4 separate regions of the Homo sapiens genome follow, and all the other regions are linked to region 1. The links are contacts of gene promoters, found by promoter capture Hi-C in blood cells and fetal thymus (Javierre and others, 2016). All regions are on one chromosome and are shown on one strand. The core of a region is centred on a gene start or on the middle of the fragment in contact, and the rest is flanking DNA. Distances in the headings are between cores, read along the strand shown. Region 1 holds the start of DUSP7 (dual specificity phosphatase 7). Region 2 overlaps PHF7 (PHD finger protein 7). Region 3 overlaps DNAH1 (dynein axonemal heavy chain 1). Region 4 overlaps DNAH1 (dynein axonemal heavy chain 1).

What was found. Contacts are between HindIII fragments. The CHiCAGO score rates a contact against its expected background, and 5 or more counts as called.
Region 2: a contact is called between a fragment that was not itself captured here and the fragment with the promoter of DUSP7 in region 1, in 2 of 17 cell types (neutrophils and total B cells). The highest score is 6.4, in neutrophils.
Region 3: a contact is called between a fragment that was not itself captured here and the fragment with the promoter of DUSP7 in region 1, in 1 of 17 cell types (naive B cells). The highest score is 5.5, in naive B cells.
Region 4: a fragment that was not itself captured here is called in contact with the fragment with the promoter of DUSP7 in region 1 in 7 of 17 cell types (fetal thymus, naive B cells, naive CD4 T cells and 4 more); the score reaches 11.0 in fetal thymus.

What each region holds. Positions count from the first base shown.
Region 1 is chr3:52,052,938-52,058,738 of GRCh38, reverse strand. DUSP7 (dual specificity phosphatase 7) reads left to right here and starts at 2,168. Exons shown (of 3, transcript NM_001947.4): 1 at 2,168-2,889; 2 at 4,365-4,799. The coding sequence starts at 2,373. RefSeq lists silencers at 1,108-1,467, 1,868-2,247, 2,448-2,507, 2,828-2,877, 3,588-3,657. The HindIII fragment of the contact is 7,722 bases long and covers 1,459-5,801 here.
Region 2 is chr3:52,415,346-52,421,146 of GRCh38, reverse strand. PHF7 (PHD finger protein 7) reads right to left here. Exons shown (of 11, transcript NM_016483.7): 5 at 1,213-1,314; 6 at 712-836; 7 at 85-244. Among named protein-coding and RNA genes, the nearest start is that of PHF7, 7.6 kb to the right of the region's middle. The HindIII fragment of the contact is 1,167 bases long and covers 3,845-5,011 here.
Region 3 is chr3:52,373,072-52,378,872 of GRCh38, reverse strand. It overlaps DNAH1 (dynein axonemal heavy chain 1), which reads right to left. Exons shown (of 78, transcript NM_015512.5): 45 at 3,460-3,633; 46 at 2,880-2,918; 47 at 93-271. It also overlaps the pseudogene PPP2R5CP. Among named protein-coding and RNA genes, the nearest start is that of BAP1, 34 kb to the left of the region's middle. RefSeq lists a silencer at 5,426-5,685. The HindIII fragment of the contact is 1,878 bases long and covers 1,145-3,022 here.
Region 4 is chr3:52,338,370-52,344,170 of GRCh38, reverse strand. The region is part of intron 8 of DNAH1 (dynein axonemal heavy chain 1); the gene reads right to left. Among named protein-coding and RNA genes, the nearest start is that of DNAH1, 25 kb to the right of the region's middle. RefSeq lists an enhancer at 117-618. The HindIII fragment of the contact is 5,475 bases long and covers 1-4,458 here.

The DNA of each region.
Region 1 (5,801 bases), core at 919-3,418:
AGTATGCTTCAGCGCCGTGGGACACGCGCCCAGTCTCACTTGAGGACAGCATGAGCCTTCTGTTGATGTGACTCTGGCCTGCCCCTCAGGGATGTCACCCTGACTTATTGGGCACTTGACACCTTCTTGAGCTACCATGGACCCGTCTGGGGAGGGAACACCAAGACCAGTCTCTGCCCTAGAGAAAGAGGGGTCTGTGTTCATCCTGTGGTAGGCCTGGGAGAGCACCCAGACCGGCATCCAACCCCATGGTGGAGCAGAGGGGAGAGGTAGCCAGGCCTGAGTGGAGGATGGAGGCTCCACTGTTGTCACTCCGGCTCCAGGCAGGCTGGTACTCAGGAGGCCCTCAGCAAGGCTTGCTGAGTGAATGGTGCACTGCTCAGCAGCTCACCCTCCCCTGGGAGTTTGCTCAGGCCTCTTTTTTGAGTGCTGCCTCCATCCCTGACAAGCAGCATCCAGCCTGCCAGCCGAGAGGCCTGTCCTCAGACCACGTCCTCCCAGCCGGATGGATTCATAGACGGATTGGGCTCAGTCCACACTAGCACTCTCCTACACTGGGAGACCCAAGGCCCAGAGGGAAGAACCATACTAAGGTCACAGGACACACCTGCAAGTGGCAGGACAGAATCTGGGTCTTGGCATCTTGGGCCCTGGAAGCTCTTTCCACAGGCCCAGGACCCCCAGGACAACCTTGGGCGGAGAGTTGCTTCTCCTTTCACACTCTGAGAATGTGACTGTGGGAGAGACCCCTGCTCCTTTGGGATACAGCCCTGTGGCCCAGGATGAAACTCTTCCGAAAGACTATCCCTCGCTTGAAAGACAGGCGGGGACTGCTCCTGAGTCACCCCTTTTCGTGCCTTCTGGTCAGAGGTTAGCGGAAAGCTCAAATCCTCGGGGTTCCAGAGGCCGTCCCTCAAGCACCACCGCTCCCCCAGTCAGGGATGGGGGCAAGGTGTCTCAGAGCCGACCAGCCTCGGGCGGAGTCGGGGGGTTAAGCCCCAAGGAGGGGCACCCCGCCAGGCAAAAGAATGGACCAGATAGACGGCAGGGTCCAGCCTCAAGCTGCCACCCTGGCTCCGTAGGGAAAGCACTGCAGGTCCTACGCAAGCGCGCCGCCTGCGTCTAGCCGCTTTGTTCTAGCGCTACCTGCGGGTCCATTCACCTCCGCTGCCCCGCCTGCCTGCAAATCGACACACAGGGCGGGCGGAGGCCCCGCCCACTTCCCCGCCCTGGGTGGAAACCGCGGCGGGCCCCGCCTCCCTCCGCCACCGCCTCTTTCGGCCAGGATTGGCCATCTGCATGGCAGGCGCCCGCCTACCGCGGAAGTTGATTGGTCCGTTGAGAGGGAGGCAGGGGAAGGAAAGCTGATTATAAAGGAGCATTCCCCTCCCACCGGCCCCGTGGAAAAAGTCACGTGGCGCTTCACTGGGCGCCTGTCACCACCCCGCTTGTAAAGCTTTCTTAAAGGGCTCGCGATCCCTTCCCAAAGCTGGTCCTTTCTAGGATTTCTCCACACCTGCCCACGGAAGGTGGCACGGCCCTGAGTCTTCCTACCCCGCCAGTTGCCCAGGTCCTGATTTCCCATCAGGCCTGCTGGCGTGAGACGCTCTCCCTCAGGTCTGGAGCCTGTGACCGTCAGGGGAACGATGAGGTCCTCTGAAACGGTGACCGCCTAGCACAGTGCCTGGCACGTAGTAGGCGTTCAGTTCTCATTTGTTGAATGAACTCGATGACAGAAAAAATGAATGGGATGACAGGCGGGAGGAGGAGAGGTTGCTCAGCTTGACCATCCCCCCCACCACGCCCCGTCCCAGGAAAACTATGCTGTTGTGAATGTGGGGTGGGGGTGCCAGGCATAGGACGCCCCCAGGGCCTCTCTTCCCGCAGTGTCCAGAAGAGCTTGGGAGCACGCGCAGAGTGAACCCATGAGGGCGTCTAGGCCGGGGTCCCTAGGCGGATCGTAGTCAGCTCCGAGCTAGTCCAGGGGGCAACGGTGCGGAGGCGGTGGGGGAGGGCCCCGCCGCTGGTCTCCCGGGCTCGGGTCGCGAGCGCGCCCGCATACCCCGTGGGGAGGGGCGGTGGAGGCGCTGCGCCTTTAAGCCCGGGCGCCGGCCCCCGCGGCCCCGCCCCCCGGAGAACGCCTCGGCGCGCGGCCGCCGGAGCCGCCGTTTAATTGGGGCTGTCAGGCCGCGGTGCGCGCGGAGGGCCGGGCGGGCGGGCGGGACGGAGGCCGGGAGGCCGGGAGGCCGGGGCGGCGGGCGCGCAGCTCGGCGGGAGGCGGGCGCCCGGAGACGCGGCTGGGGCCCGCGCGGCCGGGGCGCCGTCCCAGGGCAGGGCTGCCCGGCCCCGGCCCCGGGCCGCCCGCGCTCCCCATGAAAAACCAGCTCCGCGGCCCCCCAGCGCGGGCGCACATGTCGACTTCGGGGGCGGCGGCGGCTGGGGGCACCCGGGCGGGGTCCGAGCCCGGTGCGGGGTCGGGGTCCGGCGCAGGCACCGGGGCGGGCGCGGCGACGGGGGCAGGGGCCATGCCCTGCAAGAGCGCCGAGTGGCTGCAGGAGGAGCTGGAGGCGCGCGGCGGCGCGTCCTTGCTGCTGCTCGACTGCCGGCCGCACGAGCTCTTCGAGTCGTCGCACATCGAGACGGCCATCAACCTGGCCATCCCGGGCCTCATGTTGCGCCGCCTGCGCAAGGGCAACCTGCCCATCCGCTCCATCATCCCCAACCACGCCGACAAGGAGCGCTTCGCCACGCGCTGCAAGGCGGCCACCGTGCTGCTCTACGACGAGGCCACGGCCGAGTGGCAGCCCGAGCCCGGCGCTCCCGCCTCCGTGCTCGGCCTGCTCCTACAGAAGCTGCGCGACGACGGCTGCCAGGCCTACTACCTCCAAGGTGAGGGCGGCACCGAGACGCCTTACGGGATCGGGGCCCCCCCGCGACTCCCTGACGCCCCCCTTGGAGGCGCTTTCCTCTCCACGCGCTCGGCCTGCCCCTCTGGGCGCCACGTCGTCCCCGGCCCGCATCCGCCCTCCTGGAGCCGGGTCCCCACTGTGTGGTTTGGCAGGCGCGGGGCTCCCTCTGCGCCCCCTTTCTCGGCACGATTCGAGTGGGTGGAACAAACTTTCCCCTGCCTGGGGTTTCCTTTTTTTTCCTGTTGATGGGGCGACAGTAGTGCCTGGGCTCCAGTGGAGCCCCTCAGAGGTGGAAGGCGCCGCCTCCCAGAACCCTAAAAGCGGCAGGGCGCCCAAGTCCAGCCTAGAATTCGTGTTTCTGGAAGGCCAGGATCAGGAAGGGCACCTTTCATAGCACCATCCTCACCTCCAGCGCATGGAGACCATTTGGGTTGGGGTCTCCTGGATCCGGGAATTGCTTCTTCCACCGGAGAATTGCCGCCTCTAGGAGGCGCTTGGGGCAGGGTATGGGCAGGCTCCATTGCCCTGGCCCGGGTCTCTCGGGACCCCCAGGTCCCTAGCCTGCTGCCCCGGAGCTTGCAGAAGGGAGAGGTAGCACCGGGGGGCGAGTGGCTGAGGCCGGTGTTTCCAATTAACATTCCAAAATGGCCTCTTGCTGGCAGCGGGGCGGGCGGGAGGGGAGGGGAGGCCTGCGGCACCCTCGGGCGCAGGGCCCATGCCTCGCTGCAAGGGGCTCCCCATTTCTCCTGTCCCTGTATCGCCCCAGTGGCCCTCCCCCGCTGCAGGTCCAAGGCTGGGGGTGGGGCTTGTGTTCTAAGGGAGGGTTCTAGAGAAGTGGAGCCAGGACCCCCTTCAAAAACCTGCCCCTGCTGGGGGAAGGGGCCAGCCAGTACCTTCCCACTACCCTCCCCAGCTGTAGTTTCGGGGCTGGGCAACCACTAGACTCCCGTTCAGGAAGCCCAGGACCTCTCTGCCTCTAACTGAGCCAGATGTGGCTCTGGCACCTGTGGTCTCATCTATAAGAGGAGTTTGCCAACCCAGAGGTGCTGGCTAAGATGGGGTTGTCTGCTTTTCTTTACCACTTAGCTGTTACTGAACACCCATGGGTGCTAGGTGTGCGTGGGAGCTGCAGAAGAGGAATTAGCTGGGGCCTGTCCTCAAGTGCCCTAAAGCTGGTGCCATGGCTGGGGGCCCCGAAGTGTTATGGGTACCAGTTTGGAGTCCAGGCACGTCACTTCACCTTCTGGGGCCTCAGTTTCCTTATCTGTGAAGTGGTCATGGTTTAGATGGAGAGAACACGAGAGAGGGCACACGTGTAACATGCTTGGCATGGCCCATGCTGACCGTGGGTGCTGTGGTGTTTGGCGTGCAGAGTCCTGGCCATCTCTGGTCTTGTGCAGCCCATCTGGGCTCTCACCAGCCTCTCACCCAGGCCCTGTCTCACCCTGGACACAGGTGGTTTCAACAAGTTTCAAACAGAGTACTCTGAGCACTGCGAGACCAACGTGGACAGCTCTTCCTCGCCGAGCAGCTCGCCACCCACCTCAGTGCTGGGCCTGGGGGGCCTGCGCATCAGCTCTGACTGCTCCGACGGCGAGTCGGACCGAGAGCTGCCCAGCAGTGCCACCGAGTCAGACGGCAGCCCTGTGCCATCCAGCCAACCAGCCTTCCCTGTCCAGATCCTGCCCTACCTCTACCTCGGCTGCGCCAAGGACTCCACCAACCTGGACGTGCTCGGCAAGTATGGCATCAAGTATATCCTCAATGTCACACCCAACCTACCCAACGCCTTCGAGCACGGCGGCGAGTTCACCTACAAGCAGATCCCCATCTCTGACCACTGGAGCCAGAACCTCTCCCAGTTCTTCCCTGAGGCCATCAGCTTCATTGGTAGGTGCTGTGTGCTGGGCAGGGGGGTGTGGGTGCATCAAGGTGTATGCAGGACTCTGGGTGGCGCCCCCGCCTGACTGGGTACCTCTGGGCCTGTTGAGACCTGTGTGTGCCCTACGTGTGCCAGCGTGTGCCCGTGGGTGTACCCAGGCCTACTGTGAGTCACCGAGTCCCTTGGGCCCCTCTACCTGTTGGGGCCTGAGCAGTCTCCTGAGTCCTGAGCTCCCCCTAGCTGACAGCACGTCATGGGCTCTCTGCTGTCCAGCTTGTGTTTTCCTGGCTTAGATGTTGTTTCGGGCTTAGCAAGCTGAAACATCACAGCGCACAGACCTCCCACGGGTCTCACTTGCTCCGCATCACGCCTCAGCACACGTGTCTCTCCAGGATGGGGTTGTCATAGTGCCTCTTTGGGCTTTAATGTGGACCTAAGAGGGCTGAAAGGTAGCCCTGGAGCCAGAGGCACACCCCAAACAGGCAGCTATTGAAATGTGGTGACTGCTAGCTCAGTCAGCCTCCAGATGCTCTCTGCAGCCTGTAGGGCTTGCTTGGAGTGTAGGGAGGAGTGCAAGAGAAGGTGGGGGAGTGGAGAAAGGCCTTCCCCAGAGCAGTGTGTCCTGCTGTCTGGCTTAGTGCCCTTCGAGTCCCTGTATCCCCAGCCTCAGCAGACTCGGGTCCCCACTGCTTTCTCCTTGGCCAGCTGGAGGCTGAGACCACAGGTCATCTCCCCTGGCCCAGGGTGCAAGGAAGGGGCACGAGGGCTCAGGATGAATGTAAACGCTCTATCTCTGAGCCTGGTGACCCAATGTTTCTGCCCAGCCTCCAGTGGCAAGGTGTGGGGGTGGCCCGGGCTGTCTTTTCCCGATGGTGGCTGTGTCCAGTGGAGGGCGTTTTGGTGTCGGCTGGGCTGGGCTAGCTTTAACAACAGGAAGTGGGAGGCTTCCCCGCCTCATCCGCTTACTGGGAACCAAAAGTAGGTGCCTGGCTGGGAGGAAGGAAGGAAGC
Region 2 (5,801 bases), core at 3,179-5,678, 360 kb before region 1:
CACCTGAGCATTCCCAGGGTTCTCTGGTTCCAGGCAGAGAACTAGGGCAATGGTGGAAGGGACCCAGGGCGGAAAAAGCCCCACCTGTATGCACTTGCGGTGGTAGATGGCTTGACTACAACACGGGCTCTGGATGTTCTCAACACTCTGTTGGGATAAGTCTTCACAACATAAGATGCAGCTTTCCTCCCCCACATGCCCATGTTGGATGTTCTGTGTTGGGCGATGTTTGTCACAAAATGATCTGTGGCAGGTAAACAGACTTGGTTTCTGGTTTGTCATTGATGTAGTTTCCCAATGGCCCGCTCTAGGAGGGGCAGCCAGCCACCCAGGCTGGTGCCCAGTGAACCTCCACACATGGGGAAGAGGAGAGGCAGAGTGAAGAACTGCCACATGCCTTCTCACGGCTGCTCACCTACTGAGCAAAGTTCCCAGGACTGTCTCCATAGCCTCTCGTTCCTGAAAGCCCCACTTAGTGCTGAGCAGCTGTCTAAGAACCCCAGCTGTTTGTAATTTAAGGAGGGGTCAGGAAGCAAGAAGAACCCCCTGTGAAATCTCCAAGTCAAGACACTGTTTCTTATTACTGAATGGAGGGACAGATTCACTGGTGAATCAAAACAGGCCTGCTTGTGAGAACTGGACTCTGATTTCATTAGTGGCTGAATAATAAGTTGCAAAAAGGAAGCCAGACTTTTCCCTTCCCTCACTCACTTGTACTCTCCAAAAAATTGTGAAAGGCAACCCCTTTCTTGGCCACAAGGCAGATGGAAGTTTCTGAGGCACTGATCCTTCTGGCAGTTGATAGCAGCTCCCTTTTTCTTGCACACAAAGCAGATCTGCAAATGAGTTCCCAGACAGTGCTCAGGACCCCAAGAAATGCAAACACACACAGTGTAGCACATCTTTCTATTAAATGGAAGTTTTGTGAAATAATAGCCATTCCCTATCTTCAGTGGTCCTGAATGCTCTGGGGCACCCGGAAGCTGAGCTTCAAGCAGCACTGAGTTCTTTCCTATTTTCTCAAGATGTTTCTCCCTCTTCTCACTTAGGACACCCATACCCCAGAGGAATATGGGACTTAAGGACTAGTTGGAAAATCCAAGAGTCCTTTGACATCTAAACTAGGAAGTAGGGAAGAGAACAGAAACAGGAATGATGGGTGAGGTATGAAAAGAGGCCTACCCCAAGGTCCTCATTTCAAGAGATTCTAACCTTCCTAGAAGCCCGGGCTGCCTCCTTTTTGATGTCTTCAGGCAGAAATCCATGGAAGCCTCTGTTGGACTGGCCCCTCTGAGGCAGCTTACTAGATAAGATCTGCGGGGGCAGTAGAACCAGGCTGTTAACAATGATGATCAGTGAAACAGTGCAGTGAGGTGAGGAGAAGGACAGGGTAAGAGAGCTAAAGAATAGAGCTTGGGCCGGGTGTGGTGGCTCATGCCTGTAATCCCGGCACTTTGGGAGGCCGAGGCGGGCGGATCACGAGGTCAGGAGATGGAGACCATCCTGGCTAACACGGTGAAACCCCATCTCTACTAAAAATACAAAAAAATTAGCCGGGTGTGGTGGCACGCACCTGTAGTCCCAGCTACTCAGGAGGCTGAGGCAGGAGAATGGCGTGAACCCGAGAGGGTGGAGCTTGCAGTGAGCCGAGATCGTGCCACTGCACTCCAGCCTGGGCCACAGAACAAGACTCTGTCTCAAAAAAGAAAAAAAAAAAGAACAGAGCTTGGTGGAATATATATGCATTGACAGGGTAATTTATTTAATGAAGGCTTACATGGCACCAACCATGTGTTGAATACTCTAAGTGGTTTCAAATATTAACTCATTGAGTCCTCCCAACAGCCCTAGGAGGTAGGTACTATTATTGTCCTCATTTTATAGGAGAGATGATGCGACCTGCTCAAGGCCACAGAACTCTGGAACCTGGACTCTTACTTTTGCTCTAGGCTGCCTCTCACTTACTGAGGGCTGCTATTGTGTGCTGGGACTTTGGGGGAAACATTTCCTTTGTATTTACTCATTTTATGCTTACAATCCTTGGCCAGGCACGGTGGCTCACACCTGTAATCCTAGCACTTTGGGAAGCCGAGGAGGGCTGACCATCTGAGGTCAGGAGTTCGAGACCAGCCTGGCCAACATGGTGAAACCCTGTCTCTACTAAAAATACAAAAACTAGGGCATGGTGGTGCGCGCCTGTAATCCCAGCTACTCGGGAGGCTGAGGCAGGAGAATCGCTTGAACCCGGGAGGCGGAGGTTGAAGTGAGCCAAGATCAGGCCACTGCACTCTAGCCTGGGCGACAGAGCAAGACTCCGTCTCAAAAAAAAAAAAAAAAATTCCTGTAATGGCAGATGCTATTATGATGCTCATCTTACAGAGGAGGCCGCTGAGGTGCAGTGTGGCAAGTGACACTGCCTCCCAGGGTTATAGGACAAGGAGGAGCAGAGCTGGCTATTCACACCCAGGCCCATGGAATCCCCATTCTTACCCTTCCTGCTGCATCACCTCTTAGTACAGAGAAAATACTCTTCTCAGAGTAATACAGGAAGAAAAACAGGGTTTTAATATCTCTTGATTGTTGTTGTTCTGTATTATGGGGGAAGGAATTGAACTTTTGAAACACATATTTTAAAACTAATTATCTCAGGGCTTTGGGATGAGTGATTTGTTTTCTTCATATTTTTAAGTATCATTCATGTTTTCTGCAATAAGCATGTATTGATTTAATAAATTAGCTACTAAAAAGAAAAAACTATATCTATATGTTCTATACAGAAAGATTTCCAAAATATATATGATGGAAAAAAGCCAAGATACAAAGCACTCTGTATAATGTTTAATTTTTATGTAAAAAATGTATATGCTTGTAAATACATCAAAATTATAACTAAGCCCTGACACCTGATAGGACTTACAAGAAAGGAAAATCACAGACCAATCTTTCTCATGAGCACAGATATAAAAATCAAAACAGATGCAAACTGAATCCAGCACCATATAAAAAGGACAATACATCATGACCAAGTAGAGTTTATACCAAGAATGCAAGACTAGTTTAACATTAGAGCATTTAGTTGATGTAACAAACTACATTAACAAAATTAAAGAGAAAAATCAAGATAATCTCAATAAATACAGGAAAAGTGAGAAAATTCAACACCCATTCATGATACTCTGGGCAAACTATATATGAATAAAAGGGATCTTCAACCTGATAAAAACATCTATGAAAAAAACCTAGAGCTAACATACTTTAATAGTGAAAAACTAGATGCTGTCCCCTGATGTTGGGAACAAGACAAGGATAACAACTCACACCACTTCTATTCAATGTTAGGTTAAAGGTCCTAGCCAATACAACAAGGCAAGAAGAAATAAAAGGCAAAGATTGAGAGAAAGAAGTAGAACTGTCTTTATTCACACATGACATGGTTATGTGCATAGGGAATCCTGTAACAAGGCATTTACAACAAAATAAAAAAACAACTAATCAAACTCAATTTAACAAGATTACAGGATACAAATCAATATACAAAAATAAAATGCATTTCTATATACCAGCAATAAACTTAAAAATGAAATAAAAATACTATTTACAATAGCATAACCACAGAATATTTAGGAATACATTTAACAAAAGATGTACAAGACTTTGTCACCAAAACAACAAAACATTGCTGAGATATATTTTAAAAGACCCAAATAAGTGGAAAAATATACCATGTCCATGGATTGGAAGGTTCAATATTTTTTGTCAATTCTTCCCAAATTGACCTATAAATTCAATGCAATCCCAATCACAATCCCAGTAGACTTTTTTTTTAAAGAAAAATTGACAAGCTTAATATAAACTTTATAAAGAAAGGACCTGATAGTCAAAACAATCTTGGAAAAGATTGTAGAACTTAACAATACTGAATTTCAATATACTATAAAGCCACAATAATCAAGACAGTGGGGACTTGTGTAAGAATAGATACATAGATCAATGACATAAATAGATTATCCAGATCCACAGATATATGGTCAATTGATTTTGACAAAGGCACCAAGGCAATTCTATGGGTAGGTAAAGATTTCTTGCAACACACAAAAAGCACTGACCATAAAAGAAAAAAATGGATAAACTGGGCTCCATTACAATTACAAACTTGTTCTTTGAAAGACACCATTAAGAAAATGAAAAGGCAAGCCAAAGACTAGGAAGAAAATAGTCTCAATACATATATTTGAAAAAGAATTTGTATCTGAAATATATAAGCAATTCCTACAACTCAATAATAAAACCACTCAATTTTTTTTTTTTTTTTTTGAGACGGAGTCTTGCACTGTCGCCCAGGCTGGAGTGCAGTGGCGTGATCTCGGCTCACTGCAAGCTCCACTTCCTGGGTTCACGCCATTCTCCTGCCTCAGCCTCCCGAGTAGCTGGGACTACAGGCGCCTGCCACCATGCCCGGCTAATTTTTTTATTTTTAGTAGACACAGGGTTTCACCGTGTTAGCCAGGATGGTCTCCATCTCCTGACCTCTTGATCTGCTCGCCTCGGCCTCCCAAAGTTCTGGGATTACAGGCGTGAGCCACTGTGCCCGACCACCACTCAGTGTTTTTAAATGGGTAAAAATATTTGTACAGATACTTAACAAACGAAAATATGTGGGCCGGGCCAGGCGCGGTGGCTCACGCCTGTAATCCCAGCACTTTGGGAGGCCGAGGTGGGCAGATCACGAGGTCAAGAGATCGAGACCATCCTGGCTAACACGGTGAAACCCTGTCTCTACTAAAAATATAAAAATTAGCCATGCGTGGTGACAGGCACCTGTAGTCCCAGCTACTTGGGAGGCTGATGCAGGAGAATTGCTCCAACCCGGGAGGTGGAGGCTGCAGTGAGCCAAGATCATACCACTGCACTCCAGCCTGGGCGACAGAGCGAGACTCCATCTCAAAAAAAAAAAAAAACCAAAAAACCAAAGAAAATATGTGAATGGCCAATATGCACATGAAAAGAAGCTTTAGTCATCAGAAAAATGGAAATTAAAACGACAATGAAATACCAATACACACCCAGTAGAATGGCTAAAATTAAGAACACTGACAAAACAAAGTTCCGGCAAGAATACTGTGCAACTGGACTTCTTATAAATTGCTGGTAGGAGTGTAAGCTGGTACAACCGCTTTGGACAGTGATGTGGCAACCTCACATAAAGTTAAATATCTAATTAGCATACAACTAGTAATTCCACTTCTAGGCATCTGCACAAGAGAAGTGAAAGCACATGTTCACAAAGAGACTTGTACATGAATGCTTAAAGTAGCTTTATTCATAATAGTCCTCAAATGGAAACAATTCAGATGTTCATCAACAGGTGAACAGATAAGCAAATAGTAACTTATTCATGCAACCGAATACTACCAAGTAATAAAAAGGCACAAGCTATGAATGCATGCAACAACATGGATGAATCTCCAAAACACTGTGTTGGGAGAAAAAAGCCAGATACAGAAGATTATAAACTATATGATTTCACTTATATGAAGTAAAAGAATAGCCAAAAATAATCCATAGATCAGAACAGTGATTACGTCTAGTGGGATTGACTGGAAAAGGAGGCAGGAGGGAACTTTCTGGGGTGATGAAAATATTACCTATTTTGATTGGGGTGGTGGTTATTTGGGGACATACATTTATCAAAACTTATCAAACTGGACCCTTAAAATTAGTGAATTTTGTTCAAGACCAGCCTGGCTAACACGGTGAAACCTGTCTCTACTAAAAATACAAAATTAGCCAGGCATGGTGGT
Region 3 (5,801 bases), core at 834-3,333, 320 kb before region 1:
CCTGTTTGGGCAGGAAGGCCTGAAATTGGTGGGGCTGGGGAGGATGCGGAGAGCAGTGTGGGCACTGGGGAGGGTGCCTGCCTGGTCCTCACCTCGACCTTGGCCGGGTCAGCCATGAGCATGCCTTGGAAGACCTTGGAGAGGTCCCTCAGGTTGAAGGTGTAGTGGGACTTGGCTGGAGTGGGCAGCAGCTGGGAGGTGATGGTTGCATACACCATGATGGTGGCTTCCACAAGGGGCTCCGTGAAGTGGGCAATGTGGGGGGCCCCAGCTGGGGGAATAGGAGAATGGCCTGGGTCACATGCCAGGAGCTCCCTCTGCCGCCTCTGCAGGTCCTGACCTCCTTGCCTTTGCTGTGCTGTGCCCCCCACCAAGCCCCTTCCCCAGCCTTCAGGCTTGGATTCCACGTACCCTTTGGCCCCATCTCGGATGCCCCCAGCTTGGGGGAGGTGAAGAATCTCCTGCTCTGCACCCCTTATATCTTTATGCTGACATGGCCTGTCGGAGCACTGGGACTCATCATGGAACTGGGGGCGCTCGTGGGGTCAGTGCTGGGCGGGGCCATTACTGCCTTGTCCTATGGAGGCTGTGCCCAAACCTGAACATTCCACCTCTGAGCCACACTTGGGGAGGGTCTCATGATCCACGTAGGCCTCAAGATGCCGGAGTGGGCGTGGGGAGGCTTGGAGCACACCCCCGACCTTGAGGGCTTACCACCCACTTCGGGGCTGCCTACCCCTCAGCCTGCATTTTTACCACTCATACACCTATCGGCCTGTTCTTTGAAAACTATCCAATTCTGTGCTGGGAACCCAAATTCTGTCAGTGGAAACTTGGCGGAGAAGTGGAGAAAATGGAAAGAAAGGGCAGGAGAGGGGCCTGTCTGTTGACACAGGCACTGGGCACAGAGTGACCCAAACAGACACACTCCTTGCCCTCAAGCTGACACTCTTGTTGGTAAGGACGACAATGAGTGGATTAGCAAGTAACAAAGACAGCAAATAGGTGGCAAGGGCTACGGGCAGCCCTGCAGCAGGAGAGGGGTCCGGGGAGGGCCAGAGTTGGGCTTGGGGGCGATTTTACGGAATGCTGGGGGAGGCCTCACTGAGGAAGGGGGGTCAAGCAGAGAAGTGAGATGCAAGCTTTCACATAACTGGAGAAAAATTGTCCCAGGCAGAGGGGACAGCAAGGGCAAAGGCCTGGAGGTGGGAGCAGGCCTGGCATCTTAAGGACCAGCAATGAGGGGATGAGCAGGAGGCGGTGAGATCAGAGGATGAGGCAGGGCGAACTGAGGATGGCTTTGCCTACCATTGTCAAGACCCGGGCTCTTGCCTGGATGCGATGGGTGAGAGAGGAGGAGTGTGGACTGATGGAATGATTTCATGGGTCCCTGTGGCCCCAAGCGGAAGATAGACCTTAGGCAGGTGAAGGCAGCTGCCAGGAGACCATGGCGGGGCTACAGCACTGGCTGGGTGGGCAAGGACAGGGTGGTGAACAGTGGCCGATTGGGATGGGTTCTCAAGGGAGAACCTATGGGACCTCCTGACAGGTGAGCTGTGGGGTGAGGGAAGGGGGGATGGAGGATGGCGCCAAGACCCCGTCTTGCTGGGAGCACCTGGAAGGATGGAGCTGCCATTGCCTGAGATGGGAAGAGTGCGGGGACCGGGGTACTCGGGAGTTTGGCTCTGGACAGGTTTGGCCTGAGATACCCTGTGGACATCCCAGGGAAGATGTGGAATCAGGCATTCATGGGAGAGGTCTGGGCTGAGGAGGTAGACTTGGGAGTTGCCAGCACAAAGATGGTTTTCCCCGTCAGAGGCGGGATGGGACTGTCTCAGGAGAGTGTGGTTGGAGGGAGAGGAGGCTGGAGACCAAGCCCCAGTCCAGCCGAGAATGGGCAGCCAGGGATGGGGGAGGCCTGAGAGAAGCCCGTGGCAGGAAGGGGATGTCTGCCGGCCAGCACTACTGACCCCTGGGAAGGCGAGAACAAGGGCTGACCGCTGGTCTGGCCACAGAAGGCAACTGGTGACAAGAACTCTCAGAGGGTGAGAGGTGCATTCACAGGAAAGTGGGAGGGGAGGGCGGGTGCAGCGGGAAAGACAATGCTTTGGAGGAGTTTTGCTATCAAGGTGAGCAGAGAGGTAGAGTGACGGGCTGGGGCAGGTGGGAAGGGGGCCCAGAGAGGCTGTTTTGCATTTGGTGGTTGAGATGGAGAATGGGGCTTGTTTGTGGAAGGCCCAGTGGCGAAGGGAGCACTGGTGTTGGCGGGGAAGAGGGGTGCCACATTCCCAGGCAGGCCCAGGAGGAGGCTGGGCTTTGCTGTGGAGCAGCAGTCCGTTCCCAGCCACAGGAGGGAAGGCAGGGCGCAGGTAAGCAGGTGGGTGCAGACCCAAAAGGGAGCTGTTTCTCGACAGCCTCTTTCAGCTGAAGGCAGGGTGAGGAGGCAGGCCTGGGCAAGGACAGGGACTGCAGTGGTCAGCCGCCTTGCCGCGACGACGGGCAGATTCACCACGATGCCTGCCCCGCACAAACCACTCCCGGCTTTCCTGTGCACACCTGCTCCCTGGAGTTCTGATTCTTCACACAGGGTGGGAGTTTGTTGGATTCCCTTATTTATGCATTCATTTTGCATTTAATTTGCATCTATCATCAGCTGGACACTAACGCAGGCATGGAAGGGCTCTAAGAATGGGTGAATGAGCCTATGGGGCAGCCAGTGCCTGTGTCAACCTTCGCTCTGGCACCCTAGTGGCCCAAGGTCCCTGCATGAACCTGAGGATGGTTCACCACGGCGCCTGGTCGCAGCCTCAACACACCCAACCAGAGCCCAGGGCTCCTCCTGGAACCAGTGCCCCATTCCCGCCCAGGCCCACACTTACGCACACGCTCCCGGTAGCTTTTTTCTCCAAGGAGTCCATCTAGAGGATGGAGGGAGAAACACGGGGCTCAGGGTTAGGTGGACCTCTTGCTGCTCACCCTGGCCAGGTGAGATGGTGGGGGAAACAGCATCTTGGGGTAAGCTTTTCCCCAAACCCCATAAAGGCTCAGAGACACTCCGTCCATCCTATCTTGTGGCTTTTCCTGATTTACAAAAGTAACATGCCTTCCCCAGAGTTTCTGGGCAAGTACTAACGTATACGTATGTATGTATGTGAGTGAGTGCATATCTGTGTGCATCATACATCCAGCAATCACCACGTGCCAGGCTTCATGCTAGGTGCTCTACATGCAATATCATACTTAACCCTCACGACCTGGAATGGTAGGTACAGATGAAGAAACAGGCTCAGAGAGATTCATGAGCTGCCAAAGATCACACAGCTGAGTGAGAGGTGAACCCAGGGTTGCGGTCATGGTTTGGCCACTCCACCCTTTCTGGTGGCCACCCAGTTGTCCTTGGTGTGGCCTCCCTGGCCTGGGCTTCTGCCTTTGTCCATGCTCACCCCCACCAATACTCACCCAACCAGTTGCCCAGGATGGTGGAGAAGATGCGTTTCTTGCTGACCTCGTCCATCTCAGCGAAAGACAGGTAGTTGAAGTGACGCATCAGCCGCGGGGTGACGGTGTTCCTGCCTCCACCCGGGGGGCCCATGGCACAGACAAAGTTGATGTCCACTAGGTTCTTGAAGGCACCTGGAGTAGGGGCAGGAAGTCAGGAAGGGCCCTGGCCAGGGCTGCATTATGACCTTTGTGGCCCCTTCTCCATACAAAAATTCAAAATTATACTTTAGAACAGTACTGGAATAAAGACAAATACATCAATATTACACAGGAAAATTTTTCTTTGCCCTAAAAATTCATGCTCCTCTCCTTTAACTTTTTTTTTTTTTACAAAGTTCAAAAGTACTTTTTATTGCAGACATTTTCATATACAACGTTAGTGAAATCGAGCCCCACCCCCCGCCCCCATGGTGAAGACATAGTCCTATCTTATAAAAACATTTCAAGTAACCCTGGACGTTTTCATGTCACTCTCGTTTTTAGTACCTGGGGATTGGCTTTGGCTAGATTTTCTATTTTAACCCATGCTTCTTCTCGTACTTCCATTTTTAGCTTCTCTTTTAGTTTCTCTGCTTTGGACTGTTGTGTACAGTCATCAAACAGCTTTTGTTCCATCTCTATGAACAGATTCAGGGCGTTGTATATCAAGCCATGTATTATCTTGTTCCAATGGGTCTTTGAGTTGTGGTACAAGGAAGGAAACATGATGGGCAGAATCTTCGCTGCATTGTCACTGATTAAACTCATGATGTATTCATTATTCCAGTAATAGAGAGCTCGCTCTGCCACCTGGAAGTGTGGGCTGGAGACACATTTGGCCAACTGCCGGAAGAGGGGCTCCATGGTCTTCACAAATTCTGATGGTTCAATGACATCTAAAATCGCTTCTAATTTGTTTAAGAACATTACTTCTTTTGGACTGTGAGTCTTTGGCCAGCATTTGAGAAGTGTCATCACCACTGGTTCTGTGGGGGTGCTGTCCTTTTCTAAAAACTGCACTCCACAGTATGCCAGCTGGGGGTGGTAGACACTCAAGAGATTTCACTTTGTGCAAAGGTAGTAACACCTTCAATAAGAAAATCTTGTGTTCTTCTTTTAGTGGTAAGGCAAATCCATTAATTATACTTCCCAATATTTCCAGTAACTCTGCTATGCCATTATGATGCTCTGTTTCATAAATAAACCTATAAAATATATTATTTATCTGTTTTCTGATGTAAGCTCTCAAGCCTAGGAATTTCCCATAGATTCTGTGAAGGGTGGTTTTAAGAAAATCTCTCTCCTGAGGATCTTCACTGTCAAAGAGCTTTAAAAGCTGCAATACAAACTTCTGATCAATATATTTCTTCGCTATATTAGATTGGAAATCTGCAGACTCTAAAAATCTTAAGAAAAATTCATAAATAAGTGTAGATGAAGCCAGCCTGCTTCTAACGTTGGTTCATCTTCCTCTGAGTCAAATTCTGCTCCCGTAGGATTGGAGGAAGGTGGTAATATTCGAAACATGTTAACTGCAAACATATGGACTACTTCTGGGTAAACAGGCTCTGTGATCACATTCCAATTATGGGTGATATATTCTACCATTTCACTTAAAGCAGCTCGTTTTAATTCCTTCTACTTTAGTTCACTTAGTGGATCAGAAACAAAGTCAAAAAGGACGCAACACTGACATAACTTCTGGATAAAAAACTTCTTTTGATCAGCAGGAGGAACATCTTTTAAGGATGGTAGTTTTTGAAGTTCTCTATTACTGCTTGCGCTAAACCTTGAAGAATTTTGCTGTTTGTCTTTCTTCACTATGGGCTGAGAGACGGGTACTTTTATTTTAGCAGACACTGTAGACGGGACAGCAACAAGGCTGTTTTTCCTGACGGAAATTTGCTCTGATTCTACTGTGTCTTGTCCTTCTTTTGAACTTTTTCCACTCTTCCCTGCTTTTGGTGATTCTTTCTCCTTCTTGTTTTATTCGGCATGGCTGGAGCGGGCCGCCACCGCCCTTGCCGCTTCCTGCCCCCGCAGCAGCAGCGCCCCCGCCCCGCCGTCGCGCCCCCGCGGCCACCACCGCCACCTGGGGACTGAGACATTCACTTGCTCTCGCTTCCCCTTTTCCAGGCTTCCAGAGGCTGCGGCAGCCGTGGCGGCGGCGTCTCTCCGCCCCTCCCCCAGCCGGCCCCCCTCCTCCCCTTTAATTTTAAGAGAAATTAAAACATTTTTGTGGGTGCCTTAAAGTATTGTAGGCCTTCAGTGCTGTGCCTCCTGTGCCCCTGCACAGCACGCGTAGCCCTTGCCCTGTGAGC
Region 4 (5,801 bases), core at 472-2,971, 290 kb before region 1:
GAGCTGCCACTCACAGCCTGCACCTCCCCTGCAGCACCCCCGCCTGCTGCCCCATGGTGCAGTGGAAGATGCCTGCCACTGAGCTCCTTTGCTTTCACTGGGCAATCATGGCAGCGCCTGGAAGGTGCTGAGAACTCAGGATGTGCCCATGACTGGGCCTGAGGGTGGGTGACCCCTGCACTTCACTTTGAAACTGGGCTCCGAGATCGGAAATCAGCAGACCTGGGGTGAGCGTGCACACCATCTCCCCCGTCCTCACATAGGCAGACCCCTTGGAGGCCATTTCACTCACTCACTCACTCGCTCACTCACTCCTCAGCACACGTTGCCTATGCCGCTGTGTTCCGGCACCTGGCTTGCTCAGGCCTCATCTGAGCCAGCTGGCATCTCTGTCCTTTGCGGACAGGCCTTTCTGTTCCTTGAGTTGGTCTCTGCCATCGATCTCTCCCTCCCTCCCACCTCTGCCACATCTGAATAGTCCCTTTAGCCCTGGTAATGGCACCACAAGGGAATCTCAGTTTCCTGCAGCCCACACTTGCACCAGAGCTGCGGGATGTTGGAGAACTTCGTAGGCAGGGGACTGGTCTCACCTTCAACACACCCTCAACCTGGCCTAGAAATCTACTCACTCCCTCGGAACCTGGAAAAGACTCTCTCTCACCTTCTCTGCCAACTCACAGACACACCCTCCCTCACTGGGTGAAGTCCCTCGAATTTCATCCGGAACTCAGAAGCCATTGGACAGAAATGACCCCATCTTCACACCCCGGAATCTCCCTGCCTTCTGCCAGGGTAGAAGGCATGCCCTGCTCTCAGGAAAAGCCCAGCAAGCTCAGCCACCTCAGTCTCTTTGCCTTCCCTCCCACGCCCTCCCAGGGGTCCCCACACACTCTGGTATGTCCCACATTAGAAGCCGCCCCTTGACTTCCTTCCCTCCTTTGACTTTATCTCTTTGTGTTTCTTTATGAAAAACTGGTGTGCTCACTTCTTCCCATCCTCATCTCTTCCCTCGCTACCCCTGAGGCCACTCCAGGCTCTGCCTCATCTCACTGGACTCTCAGAGACTTGGCACAGTGGCTCCCTCCTATTCTGCTGCACCGCTGTCCTCACGGAGCTTCTGGGACACCCTTCCCCTGGATCTTCCTCACCTCCCTGACTTCTAAACGTTGGCCTGTGCCAGGGGTCCTGAGACCCCTCGTCTTCCCCAGCTATACCTCCCACCAGGTGAGCTCCTCCAGCCTCGGACTCTGAACACCACCTGTTCTATTCAGCCAGAACCCTCACACCTATCTGCAGTTCTCTCCCTTCATTTATCCACCAGCCCACTCAACACTGACACTGGATGCCTTACAACGTGTCAGAACCAGCATGTCAGAAGGCAAGCTCTTCATTTCTCTCCATCCCCTGTTCCTCGCTTGCCCCCTATCCCCACTAGCCTCCTTGTCTCTGAACAGCATTGCACACACCCTACTGACCAAAGCCCTACGGAGGGGTCCCTGGTCTCTTCCTGCTACTGGATGTGCAACACCATGACTGGGCCTGAGGGTGGGTGACCCCTGCACCTGATCCTGAAACTGGGCTTTGAGATTGGAAATCCCCAGACCTGGGGTGAGCTTGCATTTAGTCCATTAGCAGCTCTCATTGGCTCCACCGCTGAGGAAACCTCAAATATATCTCTTTCTCCCGTGCTGCTCAGCTACTATTCTGGTTCAAGCCACCATCATGATCTCTGGCCCTGATTATGGCATTAGTCTCCTCATTGATCTCCCTGCTTCCACTCTTGCCCCCTTACAACTCATTCTCTACTTGAGTTGGAAAAAATATATTTTAAACATGTAAACGATCAAGCCACTCCTCTGCTCACCACCACCCATGGCCTGCACAGACTGTCGGCCTGTGGCCGCGTCTCTGCCCCTGCATGTGGTCCAGCCTCCCAGACCAACATCTCTCTCTGCATCCCAACCACAGTAACCCTGCCCTGCTCCTCAAGTACCACAAACTTGTCCCTACCTCAGCCTCTGCACTGCTGCTCCTTCTGCCAGAATCCTCTTCTTCCCTTACTTTAGACCTCAACTCAAATGTTATCACCACTGTGAGAAAGGCTTTCCCTGACCGCCTAATATAAAGAAGCCCTTCTGAGACATCTCTATTCCCTTCTCTCGCTTGGTCTTCACAGCACTTATCAGAACCCTAAAAACCCAGATTTTTCATTGTCTGTCTTTCTGGCCAGGCTGAGAGTCCCCAGGGTGCAGGCTCTTTGTTGGAAATGTTCACTCCTCTGTACCCAGTGTCTGGCACAAGATGGGTACTTCCACACATGGCTGCTTGCTGGCCTGACATCCACTCCCTCCCTTCTTCCTCAGTTTTGTTCCAGAATTCCATCCTTCCTCACTTGACTCAGGGGAAGATGACTACAGCCCCAGCTACAGGGGTACATCTCAGCTAGTCCAAGCCAGTCGTGGTGGAGCTTGCCCCAACTGCAGTTGGTTTAGGTGTGGGAACACGTCCCAGTTATGATCAACCACTGATGCAGATATATAAAAGTCAAGCCCTTTGCAGTGAGCTAAGATTGCTCCACTGCACTCTAGCCTGGGGGACAGAGCAAGACCCTGTCTCAAAAAAAAAAAAAAAAAAAAAAAAGTCAAAGTCAAGCCCTCTTGTTCTGGCTCCCTCCAGGACAAATACGGTGGTGCCATGCTTGCTCTAGAGTTTCCCACAGGATCAGGCTGAGACTAGACTTCTAAAACCATATTTTACCAGCTGCTTCTTCTATTATACCCTGCTTCCTTCACTTCCTTATAGATTTCTCCTGAGAGGATTTCATAAATCGCTTGCACAAGAGTCCCCACATCAGGGTCTGCTTCTACGGAACCCAATCTAAGACAACCTTTGTTGTGGTCATGAAACTGCTGCTGCCATCTCGCCTGAAGATGAAGCCAGCATACACTGCAGACAGGGCCCTGATGCACCAACCCTGGGGCGTCCTGCATTGGTTTTCCTGCTACAGGTACAGGAATGCACTTCCCTGCTGTCTAAGACAATCTGAGACCAGCATCTTTGATACTTAAAGCCAAAAACATTATAAATTGAATAAAATTCAAGAAACAGACTTCTGGACAGCCAAGGTAAGGTGGCTATATCGATTCAAATTTCCCAACACATCCTAGGAAGGAAGGAAGGAAGGAAGGAAGGGAGGGAGGAAGGAAGGAAGGAAGAAAAAACTAACACTACCAAAACCCACACCTTTAGCACAACTAGAATCAGCAGAATGCCTAGACTTCAAATTATCTGTAAATTAAAAAAAAAAAATCTATCTCCAGTGAGCTGTCTCTCACACTCTTGCTGCAAGTTTTCACAGAGAACAAGGGCAGTCTAAGAAAAACTGCAGAAAAGGGAAATAGTGGTAACCCTAAGATAGATCTAAAATCCTACCAGAGGCCGGGCACAGTGGCTCATGCCTGTAATCCCAGCACTTTGGGAGGCCGAGGTGGGTGGATCACCTGAGGTCAGGAGTTCAAGACCAGCCTGGCCAACATGGTGAAGCCCCGTCTCTACTAAAAATACAAAAATTAGCTAGGCGTGGTGGTAACCACCTGTAGTCCCAGCTACTCGGGAGGCTGAGGCAGGAGAATCATTTCAACACAGAGGGCAGAGGTTGCAGTAAGCTGAGATCACACCACTGCTCTCCAGACTGAGTGACAGAGCAAGACTTCATCTCAAAAAATAAATATAAATAAATAAATAAATAAATAAATAAATAAAATCCTACCAGAAAGAGAAAGTAACCCAGGCTGGGCGCAGTGGCTAATGCCTATAATCCCAGAACTTTGGGAGGCCAATGTGGGTGGATGAATTGAGCCCAGGAATTCGAGACCAGCCTGGGCAACAAAGTGAGACCCCCATCTCTACAAAAAATAAAAAAATAGCGGGTGTGGTGGCACATGCCTGTAGTCCCAGCTACCAGGGAGGCTGAGGCAGGAGGATTACTTGAGCCCAAGAGTTTGAGGCTGCAGTTAGCTGTGATTATGCCACGGCACTCCAGCCTGGGTGAAAGTGAGACCGTATCTCAAAAAAAGAGAAAGTAACCCTAACTGTAAAAATACTGAAAAAAAGCCCTGGTAAATCAGAGCACTTACTACAAGGAAGGGACTTAAGGGCATGCAATTCAAAGGCAGTGTTCTTTGAAAGGCATATGACTTATGGGACAGGAGGCAGAAGGAAAGGGGTCATTTGTAGACTGGAGGATAAGGGAAAAGAAGCAAAAGTGAAATGTTGAGTTCTGCAAGATAAGAGGACAAAAACCTTGGAGGACCCACATCCCTCTCCCCAGCACGTGTGTACACACACACACACACACACACACACAGACACACACACAGAGCACATTCTAAAAACAAACAAACAAAAAAAACTAATGTGCAATACTGACAGAAGAGGGCGCCCTTGAACTAGAAAGCTTGCAAATCACTCCAAATCCTGAAATGAATAGGTGAACACCGTCTACATTTGCTTCTATAAGAAAAAGAGAGCATCTTTTAGCTTTGTTTGCACATTTGAGAAGACAAGAGCATCTTAACTGATAAAATTCCCATCACCCCTAAAAAAATAAACAAGTACCAAGCAGAAGAAAACTGTAACACAATACTTCAGCTAAATAGCCTTAAACGAGTGTTTGGGCATCTGAAAAACCACCTTGAATCAGAAATTCAAAAATAAAACATATAAATGGACAAATGTCGGTAAGAAAAGAGACTTAATTAAGCTCAAGGAAAAAATGGAAAATAAAAGTATCACGGGGAGGAAGCTGAAATTACAAGGTGACCGAGAGAAAACAGAGTCAAATCAAAGCATAATGAAGTAAATTGAAGAAAGGCAGGATATAACCAAGAGAATAAAAATGAGAGAAAATAAAGGAAGTAAAAGAAAGAAAATAAAATTTTAAAAAATAAAATTAGAAAAAACTAAAAAGGGTCGGAAACTGGTTGAATTAAAAGATACGCAAAGCAGCAGCAATATATAAAAAGATACATAGATACATAGAGATATAGATACATAATGGAATCCTTGATGAAGAAAAACAAAAGAATGGAACAGAACCAAGATTTAAAACTATAATTCAAGGGAATTTTTTTTTTTTTAGACGGAGTCTGGCTCTGTCACCCAGGCTGGAGTGCAGTGGCACAAACTCAGCTAACTGCAAGCTCTGCCTCCTAGGTTCAAGCAATTCTCCTGCCTCAGCCTCCCAAGTAGCTGGGATTACAGGCACCTGCCACCACATCTGGCTTTTTTTTTTTTTTTTGTATTTTTAGTAGAGATGGGGTTTCACCATGTTGACCAGGCTGGTCTCAAACTCCTGACCTCAGGCGATCCACCCACCTCAGCCTCCCAAAGTGCTGGGATTACAGGCGTGAACCACCATGCCCGGCCAACCTCAGACTTCTTAAAAGCATCACACAGGCAAGGCAACCAAAGTGGAGAATTTTTAAAAAACTCATAGAATAAAAGTTGTGAACTAAGAATTTTATATCTGGTCAAGCTGTCCTTCACGTTTTAAACGTGTGAGAACTCAAGGAACTCTATACCCTTGAGCTCTTCATGAGGAATCTACTAGAAAAGGAACTTTATACAACCAAGAGATGACGGGAGACTTCAGAAAAAATATTGATACGTTTAATAGAGTTTATTGTAAGTTGAAGACTAAAAGGTGGAGATGAGTGTGGAGGAATAGTAATAATATTTTAACAGTTAAAATATTAAGTAGAGGCTGGGCACAGTGGCTCATGCCTGTAATCCCAGCACTT